5 separate regions of the Homo sapiens genome follow, and regions 1, 2, 4 and 5 are each linked to region 3. The links are contacts of gene promoters, found by promoter capture Hi-C in human tissues and cell types (Jung and others, 2019). All regions are on one chromosome and are shown on one strand. The core of a region is centred on a gene start or on the middle of the fragment in contact, and the rest is flanking DNA. Distances in the headings are between cores, read along the strand shown. Region 1 overlaps VRK3 (VRK serine/threonine kinase 3). Region 2 overlaps TEAD2 (TEA domain transcription factor 2). Region 3 holds the start of ADM5 (adrenomedullin 5 (putative)). Region 4 holds the start of SLC6A16 (solute carrier family 6 member 16). Region 5 overlaps ZNF473 (zinc finger protein 473).

Region 1 (3,869 bases), core at 718-3,217, 300 kb after region 3:
ACCTCAGCCTCCCGAGTAGCTGGGACTACAGGCATGCACCACCATGCCCAGCCGATTTTTTGTAAAGATGGGGTTTTGCCCTGTTGCCCAGGCTGGTCTTGAACCCCTGGGTTCAAGTGATCCTCCTGCCTTGGCCACTGTGCCCAGTCCATGTCTTCTTTTCAATGGCTGCATCTTATTCCACCATATGGATAGTGGACAACTGTTGGTTTTGTCTATGTAAGACCTATATACACTTCCCCGGCTCCCTGTTTTTCTGTTTACAGTTTGTGGTGTTCATTAAAAAAATAATTTTTTTTTTTTAAGTTTTGAGACAGGGTCTCACTGGGTCACGCAGGTTGGAGTGCAGTGGTATGATCATGGCTCACTGCAGTCTCCATCTCCTGGGCTCAGGTGATCCTTCTACCTCAGCCTCCTGAGTAGCTGGAACCACATGTGTATGCCACTACACCTGGATAGGTTATTATTTTTTATTTTGTACAGATGAGGTTCCCTATGTTTCCCAGGCTGGTCTCGAACTCCTGGGCTCAAGCGATCCGATCCTTCCACTTTGGCCTCCTAAACTGCTGGAATTACAGGTGTGAGCCACTGGGCCTGGCCATGATGGTCATTTTTATGTGGCAACTTGACTGGGCCATGGGGTGCCCAGACATTTGGCCAAACCCTATTCTGGGAGTGTCTATGAGGGTGTTCTGGATGAGATGAACATTGGGGTTTGTAGACTGAGCAAGGCAGATTATTCTCCTTAATGTGGGTGGGTCTCATTCAATCAACTCAAGATGTGAATAGAATAAAAAGCTAAGTAACCAGAAGCTCCTCCTCCCTGACTGCTTGAGCTAGAACATTGGTCTTTTCCTGCCTTTGGACTTGAACTGAAACAACCCCTCTTCTTGGGTCTCAGGCCTGCTGGCCTTTGGATTGGAACTTACATCATTGGCTCTCCTAGGTCTCCAGATTGCAAACTGAAGAATCTCAGGACTGCTTAGCTTCCATTATCAATAAGCCAATTCCTTATAATAAATCTCTACACACACACACACACGCACACACACACACACCCTGCCAGTTCTGTTTCTCTGAAGATTCCTAATGCTTAGTTCCAGGATTTTCATCTGGGATTGCTTTTCCCCAGTTCTCAGTCCACGCAGTTCAGGTCTGTTTCTGCCAGGGCTGCTAAGCTTTGGGGATTTAAGCCTAATTTGCTGGTGGCAATTTTGTCACCATGAGGAATAAGTCTGCCTGACAACGAGCAGTGCAGAAGCATGAGGAGTCCAGAGATGGGAGAGCCGGCTTCCCAATGACAGGGTTTGAGCTCCTGGATCCTGCCGTGCCCGAGACAGTGCAGTCCTGGATTGCTCCATTCTGTGGACTAATACATTGCACACAGTCCCTTTTGGTTTTTGGCTTAAGGCATGTAAAGTTGGGTTTCTGTCATTTGTAATTGTAAGAGCAATTAGAAGTTACTTTAAAATACTATTTAATCAGTATCCCGCTTAAGGTGTTTCCCATTTCACTATTACAATCAGTGTTGCCAGGAACATCTTGTACACTTATCTTTGAACAATCCTATGAATATATAGGTAGGACACCTTCCTAAGACAGGAACTTGTGGATCAAAAAACAGGTGCATTTTGGCCGGGCACGGTGGCTCAGGCCTGTAATCCCAGCACCTTGGGAGGCAAAGGCGGGCGGATCACCTGAGGTCAGGAGTTCGAGGCCAGCCTGACCAACATGGAGAAACCCCATCTCTACTAAAAATACAAAATTAGCTAGGCGTAGTGGCGCATGCCTGTAATCCCAGCTACTCAGGAGGCTGACAGAGAATCGCTTGAACCCAGGAGGTGGAGGTTGTGATGAGCCGAGATCGTGCCATTGCACTCCAGCCTGGGCAACAAGAGTGAAACTCCATCTCAAAACAAAATCAAAGACAAAAAACAGGTGCATTTAAAACTGTGACTGTTATTGCCTTCCAAAAGGGTTTCCCAATTCATGCTTCCAACAGTATATGAAGAATTCCTACTTCCTTATATCCTTATCAGCAATGAATATTATTATCATGCTTAATTTTGTTCAAAGGGTGAAAATAGTATCTTGTTTTAAGTTACATCTCTATAGTTACTAAGGAGGTTGAATATCTTTTCATATTATTTAGCTAGCCTGTGGATTTCTTTTTTTAAGAATTGCTTTTCTTATCCTTTGTCCATTTTCCTACTAAGTTGCTTATCTTATTTATTTGAAGGAGCTCTTTATATATGATGGACAGCAATCCTTTGTCTGTAATAAGCACTATGAAATAAATAGAGATTTGGAGACAGATGGGAACCTGAGCCCAGAGATCTTCCAGAGTGGGCAGGAGCTGGCTCTTACCTGACTCTGGTCCTCTGGATCCACAAAGATATTTTCAGCTGTCACATTTCCATGAACATACTCATTCTCATGGAGGAACTCCAGGGCATCCAGCTGGGGGAAGAAGCAAGTCAGTGTCTGCATGAGCAGTACGACTAACACAGAGAGGCTATGGTGCAGACCAGGAGGGAGCCCCACTATTAAGGCCTGGGGTTGTCCGACACTGTGACTGGGGGTTAAACCTGACTAAATCCGGGGTAGCATGAGGAGCCCGCTGTGACAGCACATTGAGCACGCCTCTAATCAGGCTCTCAGGAAGCTCATCAATTGAGCTAAAGCGTGGCTTCCTATCTACTCCTGTATTTCTCTCTTAGCTGATGACAAACTCAGCAGAGGGAAAAGGGGTTAATGTCTCTCTGCAAAAATGACTCAGCACCTGTGGATATCAAAGAGCTCTTCTCACCTGTCCTAGAGAGCAGAAATAAATCTTGTTAAGCAATTTATATCTTGATCTCCAGCTCCAGCTGTCCCTATGAGCTCCAGACTCTTTTTTTGCTGTGTGTATATATATATTTTTGAGACAGGGTCTTACTCCTGTTGCCCAGGCTGGAGTGCAGTGGTACAATCACTGCTCACTGTAGCCTTGATTTCCCAAGCTCAGGTGATCCTCCCACCTCAGCCTCACAAGTAGCTGGGACTACAGGTGGGTGCCACCACACCCGGCTAATTTTTTGTATTTTTATTAGAGAGGGCATTTTGCCATGTTGCCCAGGCTGGTCTTGAACTCCTGAGCTCAAGTGATCCACCTGCCTCGTCCTCCCAAAGTGCTGGGATTACTGGCATGAGCTGCTGCGCCCGGCCAATTCTTTGATTGTGTCTGCTGCCTGAGTGTCAGCTACATTCTGATCATATCCCCAACCCTCTTTGACCCCAGGGCTCTACTGTCCACCAAATTCTGCTCGTTCTCCTCCTATAGACTCTCCACCCCCGGGGCCCGGGACCCTCCTCAGCCTTGTCCTCTCCCACATGGACCCTCACTCAGATTCTTCTCCCCATTCCAGTCCCTCCCCATATGGCCCCTGAGGGCCTTTCTGTACCCAGAGCTGACCCCGCCCTCCCCTAATCCCAGCACTCTTGTGGCTCTCCAGTGCCCTCAAGACAGATCCCAGCCCCTCAGCCTGCTGTGCGAGGCCCCGTGTGATGTGGTCACCGCTGACCTCTCCAGACCAACTCCATCTCTTCCGCACTGCAGTGCCATACTGCAGATACTGAACATAAAGACCTTAGGACTCAGCATGTCGCTCCCTTGGTACGTCCATCCCTCCAGCGATGCAAACTGGGCCCTCTTACTCTCAATCACAGCAGGGGCCGCTTCTATTCAGAGCACTTGTCATAGTTTGTGCAACTGTTTGATTCACTATTGGCCCCTCCCACTAGACTGTGAGCTCTAAGACACAGAAACCATGTTTATGCTGCTCCCTGCTCTGCACCCAGCCCCGGGGACAGCGTCTGGCACCCAGCAA
Region 2 (3,595 bases), core at 871-3,370, 340 kb before region 3:
AATGCCGCGATCTTGACTCACTGCAACCTCTGCCTCCCGGGTTCAAGCGATTCTCCTGCCTCAGCCTCCCAAGTGGCTGGGATTACAGGCGCACGCCACCATGTCTGGCTAATTTTTGTATTTTTAGTAGAGACAGGGTTTTGTCATGTTGGCCAGGTTGGTCTCAAACTCCTGAACTCAGGTGATCCACCCACCTAGGCCTCCCAAAGTGCTGAGATTACAGGCATGAGCCACTGTGTCCAGCCAATTCAACCTTTTTCCCTTGAAGCCCGCAACTCAAGAGTTCAGCCCCTTCCAAGGGCCTGGTTACTATGGCAGTTACTTCTTAGCAACCAGTTCAAGATGAATACCTCCCTCTAAGCCCCTCTCACTCTGGTTGCTAAGGCAAGTGGCTACTCCCTAGCAACGGGACCTCACGGAGCCTGAGGAGGCCTGACTCCTCCTCAGAGCACTTCCCCCTCGGCCAAATCTGAGAGGTCAGACTCCCTCCATGACCCCAGTGGCCAAGTGTGTGTAGACAGCTGGCCAAGTGTCACTAGGCCAAGTGGGGCCTAAGGAAGCCTAAGAGCTCATCACACCTTTGGTCTGAGTCACCTCCTTGCGAGGCGCACCTCTTCCTCTTCCTAACTTTAGTTGCTAACACTGTGCCAGGTCCGTCTTCTCAGGGGCCCGACTCCATCTCTCACCGTGGCAAAACCAAAGACCTTACCAGCTGCTCCTCTGAACCCCTTCAGCAGCTGGGCTTCCTAAGGGGGTGGCTCTCCAGTCCTGGGACCTGATAAGGCCTGTCTTAAGCCCCAACAATGTCTAAGCCCTCAGCTGCACATCCCCAGAGCAGTTTCAGGCTTCTGCTTCACATGGCAGAAAGCTCCAGAACCGTGAACAGCAAGCTCCAGAACAACAACACTCCCAGCAAGAACAGTAAAGTTCAGGCCCTCAGCAGGCCTTTCCTTCCTTTCCTTCCTTCCTTCCTTCTTTCTTTCCTTCTTTCTTTTCTTTCCTTTCTTTCCTTCTTCCTTTCTTCCTTTCTTTCTTTCGGCAGGGTCTCATTCTGTCACCCAGGCTGGAGGGCAGTGGCACAATCTTGGCTCACTGCAGCCTCCACCTCCCAGGCTTAAGTGATCCTCCTGCCTCAGCCTCCACAGAAGCTAGGACCACAGGTGCGCACCACCACACCCAGCTAATTTTTTTCATTTTTTGTAGAGTTGAGGTCTCACTGTGTTGCCCAGGCTGGTGTCAAACTCTTGAACACAAGCGAAACTCTCGCCTCAGCTTCCCAAAGTGCTGGGAAGATAGGAGTGAACCACCACACCTAGCCAGGCTTTCTTCTCAGAGACTAGATCCCTCCACCACCTTTGTTACTATAAGAACTAGCACCCCCTAAACATCCAGGCAACATTTATTGAGCCCAGGCCAGGCACTGTGGCTCACACTTGTAATCCCAGCACTTTGGGAGGCCAAGGTGGGTGGATCACTTGAGGTCAGGAGTTCGAGACCAGACTGGCCAACATGGTAAAACCCTGTCTCTACTAAAAATACAAAAATTAGGCCAGGTGCAGTGGCTCATGCCTGTAATCCCAGCACTTGGAGAGGCCAAGGTGAGCGGATCACATGAGGTCAGGAGTTCAAGATCAGCCTGGCCAACATGACGAAACTCCGTCTCTACTAAAAATACAAAAATTAGCTGGGCATGGTCGTGCATGCCTGTAATCCCAGCTACTTGGGAGGCTGAGGCTGGAGAATCGCTTGAACCCAGGAGGCAGAGGTTGCAGTGAGCCGAGATCGCACCATTGCACTCCAGCCTGGGCAACAAGAGCAAAATTCCATCTCAAAAAAAAAAAAAAAAAAAACAATAAAAGAAAATAAAACACATTTATTGAACCCCTGTAGTGTTAGTCATCATACTGGACACCAAACCAAGTAGCCCTAAGAAACACGCAAGATGGGCCCTCTTAGTCCCAATCATATAAATAGCAGCTGACACCAGGCGTCTATATAGGAAGTGCTCAATAAATGATTGCTACATAAATACAGGACTTGGACGGGTGCGGTGGCTCACACCTGTAATCCCAGCACTTTGGGAGGCCAAGGTGGGCAGATCATTTGAGGCCAGGAGTTCAAGACCAGCCTGGCCAACATGGTGAAACCCCGTCTGTACTAAATATACAAAAATTAGCCAGATGTGGTGGCGGGTGCCTGTAGTCCAATCTACTGGGGAGGCTGAGGCAGGAGAATCGCTTGAATCCAGGAGGCGGAGGTTGCCGTGAGCCAAGATACAGCCACTGCACTCCAGCCTGGGTGACAGTGAGACTATGTCTCAAAAATAAATAAATAAACAAATAAATGAATACAGGACTTGGCAAAGCCACTCCATGGCTCTTTTCATCACTTCCTCAAAGCCAGACATTCTCTAGCAACAAGGTCTGGTGAAACTGATGCAAAGCATCAGTCCCCTCTTTAGAAACCAGTCTCCACAAGTCCACTGGCTACGGGGAGGGGTCTTTCCTTAGCAGCACGGCTTGGTGCAGTCAGGTGGGGCACAGGGAAGCCTGGAACATGGCAAGCCCATGCCCAGGACCCTATTAGCTACATGGCCAGGTAACTCACCGTATTAGTTACATGTGGCAATGTCTAGTGGGATCCAGGGAGGCCCAGACACCTCCAACCCACCCTGGGGGCTGGCCTCCTCGGTGTTCCTTGTTGCAAAGGGGGCTGACACTCCAAGCCATGAGGACTGACTGGTAAGTCCCAGGCTGACCTGGTAGGGCCCGCGACAGATTCTCTCAGGGCCAGAGGCCTTTGCTGGGACACCACAGGATTTGTGAGCACTTTTGATTTTGCTGTGAGAACTCACCCAGAACTTGACCAGGAAGAAGGCATGGGGGGGGCCACGATCATATAGCTCTCGGAGGCCACCCTTTTTCTCAGGGAATTTGTCGTAGATCTGCCGGACGTCCACACTCTCGAGCGGCGGCGCTCCGGGGCTGGGGCAGTGCTGGCTGATGTGCACGAACAGGTGCCTCTGGTACTGAGGAGGGTTGGCCGTGGGTGAGAAGTCGGAGGTGAGCTGGATCTCCAGCCTGTGCTGCCTGAGCCCACCAAATGCCGTCACCATCCCCACAGCTCTGGCCAGCTGTTCCACACAGTCCACCCAGCACTGGGCCTGACTGCCACCCATCGTCCCCACTCCTGCTTCTGCACCCAGTCCCCTGCAGCCCTGCAGTCCTACAGTCCCCAACTCCCTGCCACAACTCCCCCAACTCCATCCTCACTGCCTCAGCCTCACCTCAGGCCTCCCACCCTCACCCCAGCCTCCAACCTCGCCTCTCCAGTTCATCCCTCATGTGGCTCCAGACCTGCCCCTGACCCTCCCCTGGTCATGGCCCTCCCATAGCTCCCCAGCAGCCCCAGGGCAAAGCTCACACCCCCTAGGCCTGGTCCTATATAGAACAGGTGCTCATAAATGGTCAATGGATGGAAGAGTGAATGAATGGGAATCCACAGAGGTCTTGTGGTTGATGTTTTGATTGATGTTTATATGGTGTGGCAGAGACTGCTACGTGTTCACAAATCCTGGTTCCTTTACACAGTGTGA
Region 3 (3,715 bases), core at 999-3,498:
AGCCTGGAGTCGCCGGGAGTGGTCTGGGTTGGAAAAGTGGGTCCCGGCCGATGGGTGCGAGGGTGGGTGGCACTCAGGGTAGTCATGGAATGTGGACCCTGGGACACCCACGAGCCTGTGACAGCAGCAGTTGTCAACTGGGCAGTTTTACTGCCCCCTCCGCTCCCCGCCCCCCCCCAGGACGTTTGCCACCGTCTGTGGAAACATTTGTGGTTGTCACTCCGGAGAAGGGGTGGTCCTGGCATCTGGTAGGTAGGGGCCAGGGGGCTGGTAAATGTCCTGCAGCCACAGGACCACCCCCTACAAAGACTCATGCAGCCCCCGGGACCACGGCACTAGCTGGGAAACGGATACTGGAGAGGGAGGAGGAGTCCTCGGGCGTTGGTGACTTTGTCTCATCTTCATGTGCTGGAGGGTATGGGGGGAGGAGAGGAAGTGGAGACAGCAGGCTGGACCATTGTGTTTCACTGGAACGTTTGCCTGAGGAGGAAGTGGGCTTGGGAGAGGTTTTCTTTTTTATGAAAGAAGCAATCACTGCATTGCTGATGGGAATCATCCTGATGGAGAAATCCAAGGGCAAGGGACAGCAGCTGGGCTCTACTCCTGAGTGAGTCTAGTGGGCTTGGGGGTGTCCATGTGGTGCTGTCCCTTGGCAGGGTCAGGGCAGCTGCTAGGGTGGGACCAGCAGTTGGGGTCTGCAGCGTGGAGATGGGCAGGAAGCTGGAGCCCGGCTCATCGTCGCATAGCCTGCCTGCACCCGCCCCCCGCCACCACCTCCTGGTGGGTTCCGCCCTCATGCCCCACCTCTCCCTGCAGCGGGACCTGGACTTCACCATCGACCTGGACTTCAAGGGCCAGCTGTGCGAGCTGTCCTGCTCCACCGACTACCGGATGCGCTGAGGCCCGGCTCTCCCGCCCTGCACGAGCCCAGGGGCTGAGCGTTCCTAGGCGGTTTCGGGGCTCCCCCTTCCTCTCCCTCCCTCCCGCAGAAGGGGGTTTTAGGGGCCTGGGCTGGGGGGATGGGGAGGGCACATCGTGACTGTGTTTTTCATAACTTATGTTTTTATATGGTTGCATTTACGCCAATAAATCCTCAGCTGGGGTCTGGCTTTGTTTCCTGGGGGCAAAGGAGGTTTGGGGTTCCTTTCGCAGGTACTGCAGTGCCAGCCTCAGCAGTGGGGGGACCGGCCTTGGCACCTGCTGGTGGCTGCCATTCTGTGGATCTGCGTCTCCCGTCCCCCGTCTCTAGGCCTCTTGCTCCCCTTCCTTGGTTCCTTCTCGGGGTCCCTGTCCTCCACAGCTGTCTCTCAGGGTCTTTGTCCAACTCTTTTCATCCCTCTCCTGGGTCTGCGCCCCTCCCCTCTGCGGTACCCGTGTCCTGCCTAGTAGGGGATGGGGGTGGCTTTCCAGCACAGCCAGCCCTCAAGTTTCCCAGAACAGTCTCCCCACCTCCCCCCAACACTCGACATTGTTCCTCTCTGGCTGTTTTTTCCTGTTCGGGTCCCTTCAAGGCCCAACTGTGCCCAGCCCTCTGCAGCTGGGGACACTGAGTGGGTTGGGGGTGTATGTTTGCAAGGATAGAATTTCTCATGGGGGAGTGGCCCTGCTTCCTCCCCTAGAATGGCTTGGGGCTTAGGGCTGGGGACTTGCCCTCCATGGAGGTCAGTGGGAGTTGCAGCTGTAAGGTGGCAGGGCCTACCCATCTTACAGAGGTGAAGACGAGGTCCCTCTGCCTCTGCTGCAGACATGGCGTCTGCACCCACCCTTCCACCCTCAGGGCCTGGCCACGGGGTCCTGGGTCCCCCACAATACTGTGCACTCGACCTGGTTGACCCAGGACACCCTCCTCGTTGAACAGCCCTGGCTACACCTGCTTCAGTGCAACTGGAGCCCTCACCGGCGAGTGCCTGACACCTCGGCCTTTTCTCTTCCGGAGGGGCGCTCCTCAGTGTGTTTGGGGTCTCCCTCGCTCCACGCCCTCCAGGGGGCCGCATGTGCACTTGCCCTGCATTGCCTGGCCCCCGAGGTTCCAGGGTCCCAACTGTCTACTAACCGGCTTCCCGACAGGGTGAGGGTGAGGTCGCATCTACAACCAGAGCCAGCGCTTCCCCGCCGCCACCCCTTTTCTTGGAATCCCGCTGCTTAGCTACCTGCGGGTGTCATTGGCCCCGCCCCATTTCCCCACGCTTTGAAGGGGGCGAGTCTCCACAGACCTCCTAGGGGGATAGACAGCAGCTGGTGTGACCCCACACACCCAGTGAGGTCTCTGGAGCCGCGGTGCGGGAAGCGGGGACCCGGGTTTGAATCCTGCCCCTCTGGTGTGGTGCGGCCTCTTCCCACAGACTTTTGGCCTCAGTGTTCCCCGCCTGGGAAGTGGGGACTGGCCCTGGTACCTGGCTCCAGAGCTGCACCCAGAGGCGATCAGCCCGGTGCGGGAACGGGGCGGGGTGGCCGCAACTACGGGCCACGGATCCTGACCCGCCCTGCCCACGATGACTATCCACATCCTCATCCTGCTGTTGCTCCTCGCCTTCTCCGCCCAAGGGGACCTGGACACTGCAGCCAGGTGAGAAACCCGGGTGGCAGCAGGGACAGGGCGGGAGGGAGACCGTAAAGGGCGAGCGCCCTCTCCCGGCCGCGGAACGGGCAGGTGATCTGTAAGCCTCCCCGCTGGTCTTGGAGTGCTTGGGTGCCCACCTCCATCACGCTCCATCTCTCAATTCGGTTTGAACCCGGTTTTCTCCCACGCTCCCTCTCCAGGCGAGGCCAGCACCAGGTCCCCCAGCACCGCGGGCACGTCTGCTACCTGGGCGTATGCCGGACCCACCGCCTGGCGGAGATCATATACTGGATTCGCTGTCTCCACCAAGGAGCCCTCGGGGAAGGCCAGCCACGAGCCCCAGGACCCCTACAGCTATGGGCGCCGCCGGTGGCGCGAGGCGGAAGCCCGGCTCGGTTCCCAGGATTCCGGCCTGCAGCGAGGGGGCTAGCGCAGTGCCCAGCTCGCTGGGTGACCTCGGGCACGGCTCGTCCCCTCCTCGGCTTCAGTTTGCCTATCTGTATGTTGGAGCTTCTACTCCACATTTCTTCTCCCCTAACTCCAGCCCCTGAAACCGTCTTCCCCAGTCCCTCCCCGGGCTGCGACTAGGTTGGACCTAGAAGCACACGGGACCAGGCTGGGCGAAGAACACTGACGCCCAGAGCCGAATAAACAAGAGTTCCGTGTTTCAGTCTCTGCTTCTCTGTACCTATTTCGACCTCTCAGTCGAGGCTGGGTCTCTAATATACCTTTCTCTATTAGCCATGCTGCTTCTCCCTCACGGAAGTCCCACTGTCTACCTTGAATCCAACCCGCTGTGGCGCCTTTCTTGCCAACTCAATCCATGCACCTTCCGTGGGTGGTTTTGGCGGGCCGTCCTGACCCCCAAACATCCCTCCTCCCTCCCTGGCGTGAAAGGGCTGAGATTTGCTCCGGCACCCTACGCGCCTGACGTTATAATGCACCTGGGGTGGGCTGCGACCTCCCAGCTGAGCCTTGTTCCTCGAAGAGACAGGAGACTAAGAGACAATGAGCTGAGTGAGGAGCCCAGGAACCCGGGTTCCGAACAGCTGCGTAGAATGCGAGCGGCCAAATGGTGGAGAATCTGGCCGGGTAAAAGGAGACGGAGGACTGGGGATCGAACGGATGTAGGGGATTGGACGCCGTGGCTCGAAG
Region 4 (3,610 bases), core at 516-3,015, 360 kb before region 3:
CCACAGAATGGGAGGAAATATCTGAAAATCATATGTATAATAAGAGATTAATATTCAGAATATATAGAGAACTCGTAAAACTCAACAACAAAGAAACAAACAACACAATTCAAAAATGGGCAAAAGACTTAAATAGACATTTCTCCAAGGAAGATATACCAATCTCCAAGAAGTACATGAAAAGATGTTCAACGTCACTAATCATTAAGGAAATGCAAATGAAAACTACAATGAGATAATACCTCGCATCCATTAGGATGGCTAATATAAAAAGGCAGAAAATAAGAAGTGTTGGTGAGGATGTGGAGAAATTGGAATCCTTGTGCCTTGCTGGTCAGAATGTAAAATGGTGCAACCACCATGGAAAACACTATGGTGGTTCCTCAAAAACTTAAAAATAGAATTACCATATGATCCAGCAATTCCACTTCTGGGTATACACCCAAAATAAGTGAAAACCAAGCCTCCAGTGGCTCAGCCTGTAATCCCAGCTCTTTGAAAGGCTGAGGTGGAAGGATTGCTTGAGCCCAGAAGTTCGAGGCTGTAGTGAGAGGTGATCATGCCACTGGACTCCAGCCTGGGAGACAGAGAGAGACCCTGTCTCTTAAAAATAATAATAATAGGCTGGGCACGGGGGTTCACACCTGTAATCTCAGCACTTTAGGAAGCTGAGGCGGGTGGATCGGCTGAGGTCAGGAGCTCGAGACCAGCCAGGCCAACACAGTGAAACCCCGTTTCTACTAAAAATACAAAAAATTAGCTGGGGGTGGTGGCGCACGCCTATAGTCCCAGCTACTTGGGAGGCTGAGGCAGGAGAATCGCTTGAACCTGGGAAGCAGAGGTTGCAGTGAGCTGAGATCGTGCCACTGCACTCCAGCCTGGGTGACAGAGTGGGACTCCATCTCAAATAAATAAATAAATAAAAAATAATAGATTCATGTTTCTTAAACACATTCTAGAACAGTTGTCCTTAAAAGCAAGCTTTACGGAAGGGAGAGAACTGAGTTTTGGCCAGCTGGCCACTTCCAACATCCATAAAGCCCCTTGAGCCCCAGGCGGACTCCTCTTCCCATATGGGTGCAACCCTCCATGGTGCCCCTACACCGTCATCCCAAGCAACTCCTAGGCTCATGCCCTGTGGGGAGTGCTCAGGATCCCCCAGAAATGCCCATTCCCCTCACATTACCTCCTTCCCTGGAACTATAACCTCCAGAAAAGGAAAATAAGGAGCTGGTGTCCCATTTCTGCAAAAAGCAGAAAATAACTGCCCTAACAGACCAGTGATGGGGCTAGACCCGGGTTTCTGCCACTCGGGCACTTGACACTGATGGCTTTCCCCAAAGGCAGGGACTGATGGCCGAATCCTGTCAAGGAATTGGCTCAAACTCGGACTGGATGAGTGAGGAGAGCCGAAGACAGTTTCCTCTGTCCTACGTGGGGGGTAAAGGAGGGACCCCTTTGATCCCTCAGCTCCACAGAGCCCAGGGCAACCAGGAGGCTCCCAGCCAGTCACCTGTCACCCGTCAGTGGAGCCCAGTGGGCCCGGGCCTCGAAAATGGCGCCCAGCCCCACACACCCCAGATGTGGGAACATTTTAGGGCTCCCTGGGCCGTGACCCTCACCCTAGCCCCAAGGCTTCTGCCAGGTTCTTCAGTCCAGCCAGTCGGACAAAAATGAGGGTGAAGAAGCCCCAGCTGAGAAGCCTAGCAATCTCCTCAGGCCCCTTCAGGCGTCGACAGATCGGTTTGGGCGACACCCCTCGATCTGCCTGGCGCGCGGCCTTTCCCGCCGATTCTCTGCGCATGCGCCGCCGCGCCCCCTCACTCTTTCCCTACAGCTGTAGCAAACACTGTAACCACTTCGCCCTCCCCAACTCCCTGCTCTCTCCCCACACGCACGCACGTGTGCACATCCTCTGACTGCTCACGCGCCACTCCCTTCCCCACCGCACCCCACCCCGACACCCACGATGCCACGCTTCAGGCGGGGCTCTAAGACAAGGCCTTTCTCTGGCACATGCACTTTGCTTCCACTTCATGTAAGGAAGAAGAGGGTAGGAAGTGGGAGAATCGTCTCATTCATTCCTTCTAGCCTTCAAACCTTTCGCATTTACTTAAAGATCGCCTACTAGAAACCAAACCTTAAATATGCGTCCAACAAGGCAGACAGGGACGTTGCCTTAAGAGAGCTCAGAAGCCTACTAGGGCTGCAGACAAGAATTAAAAACTCAAAGATTTACTTAGGTCATCCGTTCTCATACTTTCCGGTCTCTTAAGAATTATTAAGGACTCCAATAATTTATGAGTTACATTTATATGGGTTGTATGTTTATGTGAGTTGTATCTATCAATATTAAAATAAATTTCTAAAATAGTCATTGTTTAAAAATTCATTATGTGTCAAAATAACATTTTTATTTAAAATAACTATAATTTCTACTCCAAAAGAAATTTTGGCGCTGGGCGCGGTGGCTGACGCCTGTAATCCCAGCACTTTGGGAGGCCAAGGCGGGTGGATCACGAGGTCAGGAGTTCGAGACTAGCTTGGCCAACATGATGAAACCCCGTCTCTACTAAAAGTCAAAAAAAAAAAAAATTAGCCGGGCGTGGTGGCACACACCTGTAATCCCAGCTACTCGGGAGCCTGAGGCAGGAGAATCGTTGGAACCCAGGAGGCAGAGGTTGCAATGAGCCGAGATTTTGCCACTGCACTCCAGCCTAGACAACAGAGCAAGACTCCGTCTCAAAAAAAAAAAGGAAAAAAAAGAAAAAATTTGGGGAGAAGAATGGCATCATTTTACATTTTTGCAAATCTCTCTAATGTCTGGCTTCATAGAAGACAGCTGGATTCTCATATCTGCTTCTGCACTGAGTGTGTCAAAATAGCTCATGTCTTGTAGCTTCTGGCAAACATCACTATATTCAAAGAGGAAATGAAAGTGAAAGGCAAATAATATCTTAGTAGTATTATGAAAATAATGTTCACCTCATGGACCCCCAAAAGTGTTTCAAGAGCCCCCAGGAGTCCCTGAGCCACACTTTGAGAATGAAAGGCTTAAATTGTTATGATTGAACAAAGAGATGAAGAGGAAATTTTGGGGGTGCTGTAAGAATTCATCACAATCTTTGGGAATCATTCAATCTTTCAACACGTATTTATCGAGAGTCTACTAAATGCTAGGAACTGGGAATAGTGTAGAGAACAAAACAGACCCCATTCCTGCCCTCGTTTTGCTTCACACAACAAGAAAACAGATATATGATGAATCTCAAATAATTACATGATTATAAATTGTATTAAGTGCTATGACAGGCCGGGCATGGTGGCTCACGCCTGTAATCCCAGCACTTTGGGAGGCCAAGGTGGGCGGATCACATGAGGCCAGGAGTTCAAGACCAGCCTGGCCAACATGGTGAAACCCCATCTCTACTAAAAATACAAAAACGAGCCAGGTGTGGTGGTGCACGCCTGTAATCCCAGCTACTCGGGTGGCTGAGGCACAAGAATCACTTAAAACCATGAGGCAGAAGTTGCAGTAAGCCAAGATCACACTACTACACTCCAGCCTGGGTGATGGGGTAAGACCCTGTCTCAAGGAAAAAAAAAAAAG
Region 5 (3,860 bases), core at 527-3,026, 340 kb after region 3:
AAAAAAAAACAAATTTAATTTTTTTTTGGAGGCAGGATCTTTCTCTGTCATTCAGGCTGGAGTACAGTGACACAATCATAGCTCACTGCAGCCTTGAACTCCTGGGCTCAAGTGATCCTCCTACCTCAGCCTCCCAAGCGATCCTCCTACCTCAGTCTCCCAAGTAGTTGGGACTACAGGCACGTGCCACCACAACTTGCTCATTTTTAATTTTTTTTTTTTAGAAACAAGGTCTTGTTACGTTGCCCAGGCTGGTCTCGAACACCTTTCAGCCTCCCAAAGTGCTGGGATTATAAGCATCCCCCACTTGCCTAGCACTGGTGGGGGAGCTTTAAATGGGCACCAGTGAACTAACTTCGTGGGATGTAGACCCAATGTTGCCAAATCCTAGGATGTTTCAGAAGTTGGAAACATAATTTTTAGGTGAAATTTCCCAATTTTCAAGTTTGAGACTAGTGAGCCATGCTTGAATTTTCTTTCAAAACATTCTGTCTGCCAACAAACATTATGGGCCAAATATCTGTCAACTGAGTTATACTCGTAGGTTGAGGCTTAACCTCTGACATGTAGAAAAACTCATTGTTCAGTAGAATTAGCATTTATTGTAGGTCTACCATATTCCCATATTTGTAGTCTCAAAAATCTGGACAACTCAGAACAACAAATTTTTTTTCATAAATTTAGTGTCCGTGCCTTACCTGAACTACTACAGGGTATTTTTTAAATATAACTTTAAATTATTCTACCTAGAATGAACGATGATACTTTTCTCTAGGGTAAAGTGTTCAATTATGAAATGCAGCCTGATCCACACTGCGCTGGGACTTTGTTTTGTTTTGTTTTTGTTTTTGTTTTTGAGACGGAGTCTCGCTCTGTCGCCCAGGCTGGAGTGCATGGCGCCATCTCGGCTCACTGCAAGCTCCACCTCCCGGGTTCACACCATTCTCTCGCCTCAGCCTCCTGAGTAACTGGGACTACAGGCGCCCACCACCATGCCTGGCTAATTTTGTTATTGTATTTTTAGTAGAGACGGGGTTTCACCGCGTTAGCCAGGATGGTCTGGATCTCCTGACCTCGTGATCCGCCTGCCTTGGCCTCCCAAAGTGCTGGGATTACAGGCATGAGCCACTGCGGCCAGCCCTGCACTGGGATTTTAATGAAATATGCCATGTATATGCCATATCACCTTTTGAAAATAAAAGTTGAATTTCAAAGCACATCTGGCCTTGGAGTTTGAAGAATTTGTGGACCTGTGTCATTGTTAAGTGATCCGTGCTGCTTTGTGATATGAAATGCTTTCAGCACTCCGCAGATATGTGCTACTTGGTCCACGCAGTGGATACAAATGGGTAAAAATGTCTGTGGTACAGTTTTGCGTATTATGGGTCATGAAAATAACTAGGTGGGCAGTGACTATGATTTTTTAATGAAGTAGAATAAAAGAGACTAGAATAGAAAACATCCCAGTGCATCTTACATTGCAGGGTAAGTATTGCTTCATGAAGCTTTTGTTTAGTTACACTGTGTGTTTGAGTAGTCATGATACTTTTTTTTTTTCTTTTTTGAGATGGAGTCTCACTGTGTTGCCCAGGCTGGAGTGCGGTGGCACCATCTCGGTTCACTGCAGCCTCTGCCTCCCGGGTTCAAGTGATTCTTTGCCTCAGCCTTCCGAGTAGCTGGGATCACAGGCACGTCCCACCAAGCCCAGCTAATTTTTGTATTCTTAGTACAGACGGGGTTTCAGCATATTGGCCAGGCTGGTCTTGAACTCCTGACCTCAAGTAATCTGCCCACCTCGGCCTCCCAAAGTACTGAGATTACAGGCGTGAGCTACTGTGCCTGGCCTATTCTACATATTGGTGGTGTTACTGTGGGTCACGGTTAAAACAAAAGTTGAAATATTTCTGTTGTAGAGATAGTGGCCAGGTGCGGTGGCTCACAACTGTAATCCCAGCACTTTGGGTGGCCCACGAGGGCGGCTTACTTGAGGTCAGGAGTTTGAGAACAACTTGGGCAACAAGTGAGATCCTGTCCCTACAAAAAGTGAAAAAGATTAGCTGGATGTGGTGGCACATGCTTGTAGTCCCAGCTGCTTGAGAGGCTGAGGTTGGAGGATTGCTTAAGCCCAGGAAATTACAGCTGCAGTGGCCCATGATTGTGCCACTGTAGTACTCCAGCCTGGCAACAGAGCAAGACCGTGTCTCCAAAAAAGAGTAACAGTTTCGGAGGCCAATTTACCTGAACTCAAATTCCAGAGATGATAATCAGAAATCCCAGAAGCATTGTTCCATTGGTTCTTTAGACACCTTCGTTCTGTCAACAACTGTAGGTACTTTTACACCTACTGTTAAAGCACCTACTGCGTACTAGGCACCATGCTGGTGCTAAGACACAGCAGTGAGCAAGACAGAAGCTCCCACTGTGGCCATAGACTTTCATCACCAAATCTCCTAAACATGTGCTGACTGACTGTTAGGTGCTAACCCACCATTGTTGGTGGCGAAGCTGTTCTGTAGGTTCTGAAGCACAGTGCAAATGTGGGGCTGAGGTGGCTTCAGTAAATATAGTTGTTGTTGTCCCCTGCAGGGAGACTCACATTGGGACTTGTCCTCCTCCTCCTGGACATTTTGGGGGCTCGTCAGCATGGACAGCGAGTCAGCCATGGGTGGAAGGGAGGCTTTCTCACAGCTCCCTTGTGCTTCCCACAGCCCTGCCAGCCGGGAACACGGAGGGGAAGGAGGAGGAGCTTAAAAGAGGCTACTGAACCCCAGTTGGCCATGGCTGAGGTGAGTTGAAGGTCGCTCTGTCCTAATCGGTCACACCCAAAGGCAGAAAAATTGGCCTTCCTTTGTGGCCGAGGCGAGTTGAAGGTCGCTCTGTGTTGATTGGTCACCCCCATGGCAGGAAAGCTGGCCTTCCTTTGTTTTGGCCTCCCTGTCCCATGGTGGCTCCCAGGCGATCTTTTTTAAAGGAAAGCTCGCATGCTGTTCTTTCCTGTTTGTACTCTTCTGGGAACCCCTATTGCTTATAGAATAAATTCCAGGTTTTTCAGCCTTCCTGTGTGTTCTGGCTTCTACCCTCTTTGCACCATCTTCTGTCATTTCTCTAGATAACAAATACTCCCTTTGGCCTAGTAGTAAAAGTTGATTCTGTACTTTCCAGCAGCTTCCTTTGCTCAGGTTGGGCCCTCTGCTGGAATTCCCTGCCCCTTTTCCATGTGGTAGTGTCTCACACAGCCTTTAAGACCCGGCTCAGTTCCCCCACCCTTCCCTAGGCAGTCAGCACTTTCCTGCTCTAGCCTTCCATAGTACCCCCTGCTGCCTCCACTGTAGCACAGATCCACCTAGATATGGATGTTCCTGCCCATATCTGTCAGCCCCACCAGACTAGATGCTCCTTGGGGACAGGAACTGATGGGGATTCATCTCTGGGTCCCCAGGGCCCAGCACAGGCCAGGAACACAGGAAGCCTCATGAGGTGTTAGTTGAATGAATGAATGAATCAATGAATGATGCATGAAACCATCTCTCTATCTGGTAAATATCTGTTCATCCTTAGTGATCCAACTTGAATGACCTTCCCTCCAGGAAGCTTTCCCTGACCTCAAGGCAATGGCCTCCCTCTCCCCCTTGGCCCACACAGTCCCCGATACCTCCCTTTGCCACAGTCCTACCTCCCTCGTGTCTCTCCGTCAGACCATGAGCTCCATGAGGCCAGGAAACAGGTCTGACACACGTCCATGTCCCCAGTGCCCACAATGTGGTCTAGCACACAGGGTAAATGATTGCCAAATATGTGCTCTGACCTTGTCACTTTCCTGTGGCTCCCCAGTGCCTCAAGGATCTAGTCTGCCCCGTCTT

The links. The method cuts DNA at HindIII sites, captures the fragments that hold promoters and counts their contacts. A contact is called where the count stands out against the background at its distance.
Region 1: a contact is called between a fragment that was not itself captured here and the fragment with the promoter of ADM5 in region 3, in 1 of the 25 tissues and cell types used here (pancreas).
Region 2: a contact is called between a fragment that was not itself captured here and the fragment with the promoter of ADM5 in region 3, in 1 of the 25 tissues and cell types used here (stomach).
Region 4: the fragment with the promoter of SLC6A16 here is called in contact with the fragment with the promoter of ADM5 in region 3 in 1 of the 25 tissues and cell types used here (stomach).
Region 5: a contact is called between a fragment that was not itself captured here and the fragment with the promoter of ADM5 in region 3, in 1 of the 25 tissues and cell types used here (hippocampus).

The regions. Positions count from the first base shown.
Region 1 is chr19:49,990,493-49,994,361 of GRCh38, forward strand. It overlaps VRK3 (VRK serine/threonine kinase 3), which reads right to left. Exons shown (of 15, transcript NM_016440.4): 10 at 2,368-2,460. Among named protein-coding and RNA genes, the nearest start is that of SIGLEC16, 23 kb to the left of the region's middle. RefSeq lists an enhancer at 3,772-3,869. The HindIII fragment of the contact is 7,768 bases long and covers 1-3,869 here.
Region 2 is chr19:49,344,336-49,347,930 of GRCh38, forward strand. TEAD2 (TEA domain transcription factor 2) reads right to left here. Exons shown (of 13, transcript NM_001256660.2): 10 at 2,855-3,028. Among named protein-coding and RNA genes, the nearest start is that of CD37, 11 kb to the left of the region's middle. The HindIII fragment of the contact is 5,882 bases long and covers 1-3,595 here.
Region 3 is chr19:49,687,346-49,691,060 of GRCh38, forward strand. It overlaps ADM5 (adrenomedullin 5 (putative)), which reads left to right and starts at 2,249. Exons shown (of 2, transcript NM_001101340.2): 1 at 2,249-2,566; 2 at 2,761-3,230. The coding sequence starts at 2,493. The coding sequence ends at 3,148. It overlaps PRMT1 (protein arginine methyltransferase 1), which reads left to right. Exons shown (of 11, transcript NM_001536.6): 11 at 817-1,102. The coding sequence ends at 900. It also overlaps a transcript of CPT1C not described here. RefSeq lists enhancers at 1-589, 590-1,330 and a silencer at 2,639-2,708. The HindIII fragment of the contact is 11,781 bases long and covers 939-3,715 here.
Region 4 is chr19:49,323,426-49,327,035 of GRCh38, forward strand. SLC6A16 (solute carrier family 6 member 16) reads right to left here and starts at 1,766. Exons shown (of 12, transcript NM_014037.3): 1 at 1,623-1,766. RefSeq lists an enhancer at 2,930-3,079. The HindIII fragment of the contact is 19,669 bases long and covers 421-3,610 here.
Region 5 is chr19:50,028,306-50,032,165 of GRCh38, forward strand. It overlaps ZNF473 (zinc finger protein 473), which reads left to right. Exons shown (of 5, transcript NM_015428.4): 2 at 2,587-2,786. The coding sequence starts at 2,778. Among named protein-coding and RNA genes, the nearest start is that of ZNF473, 4.2 kb to the left of the region's middle. The HindIII fragment of the contact is 4,342 bases long and covers 1-3,860 here.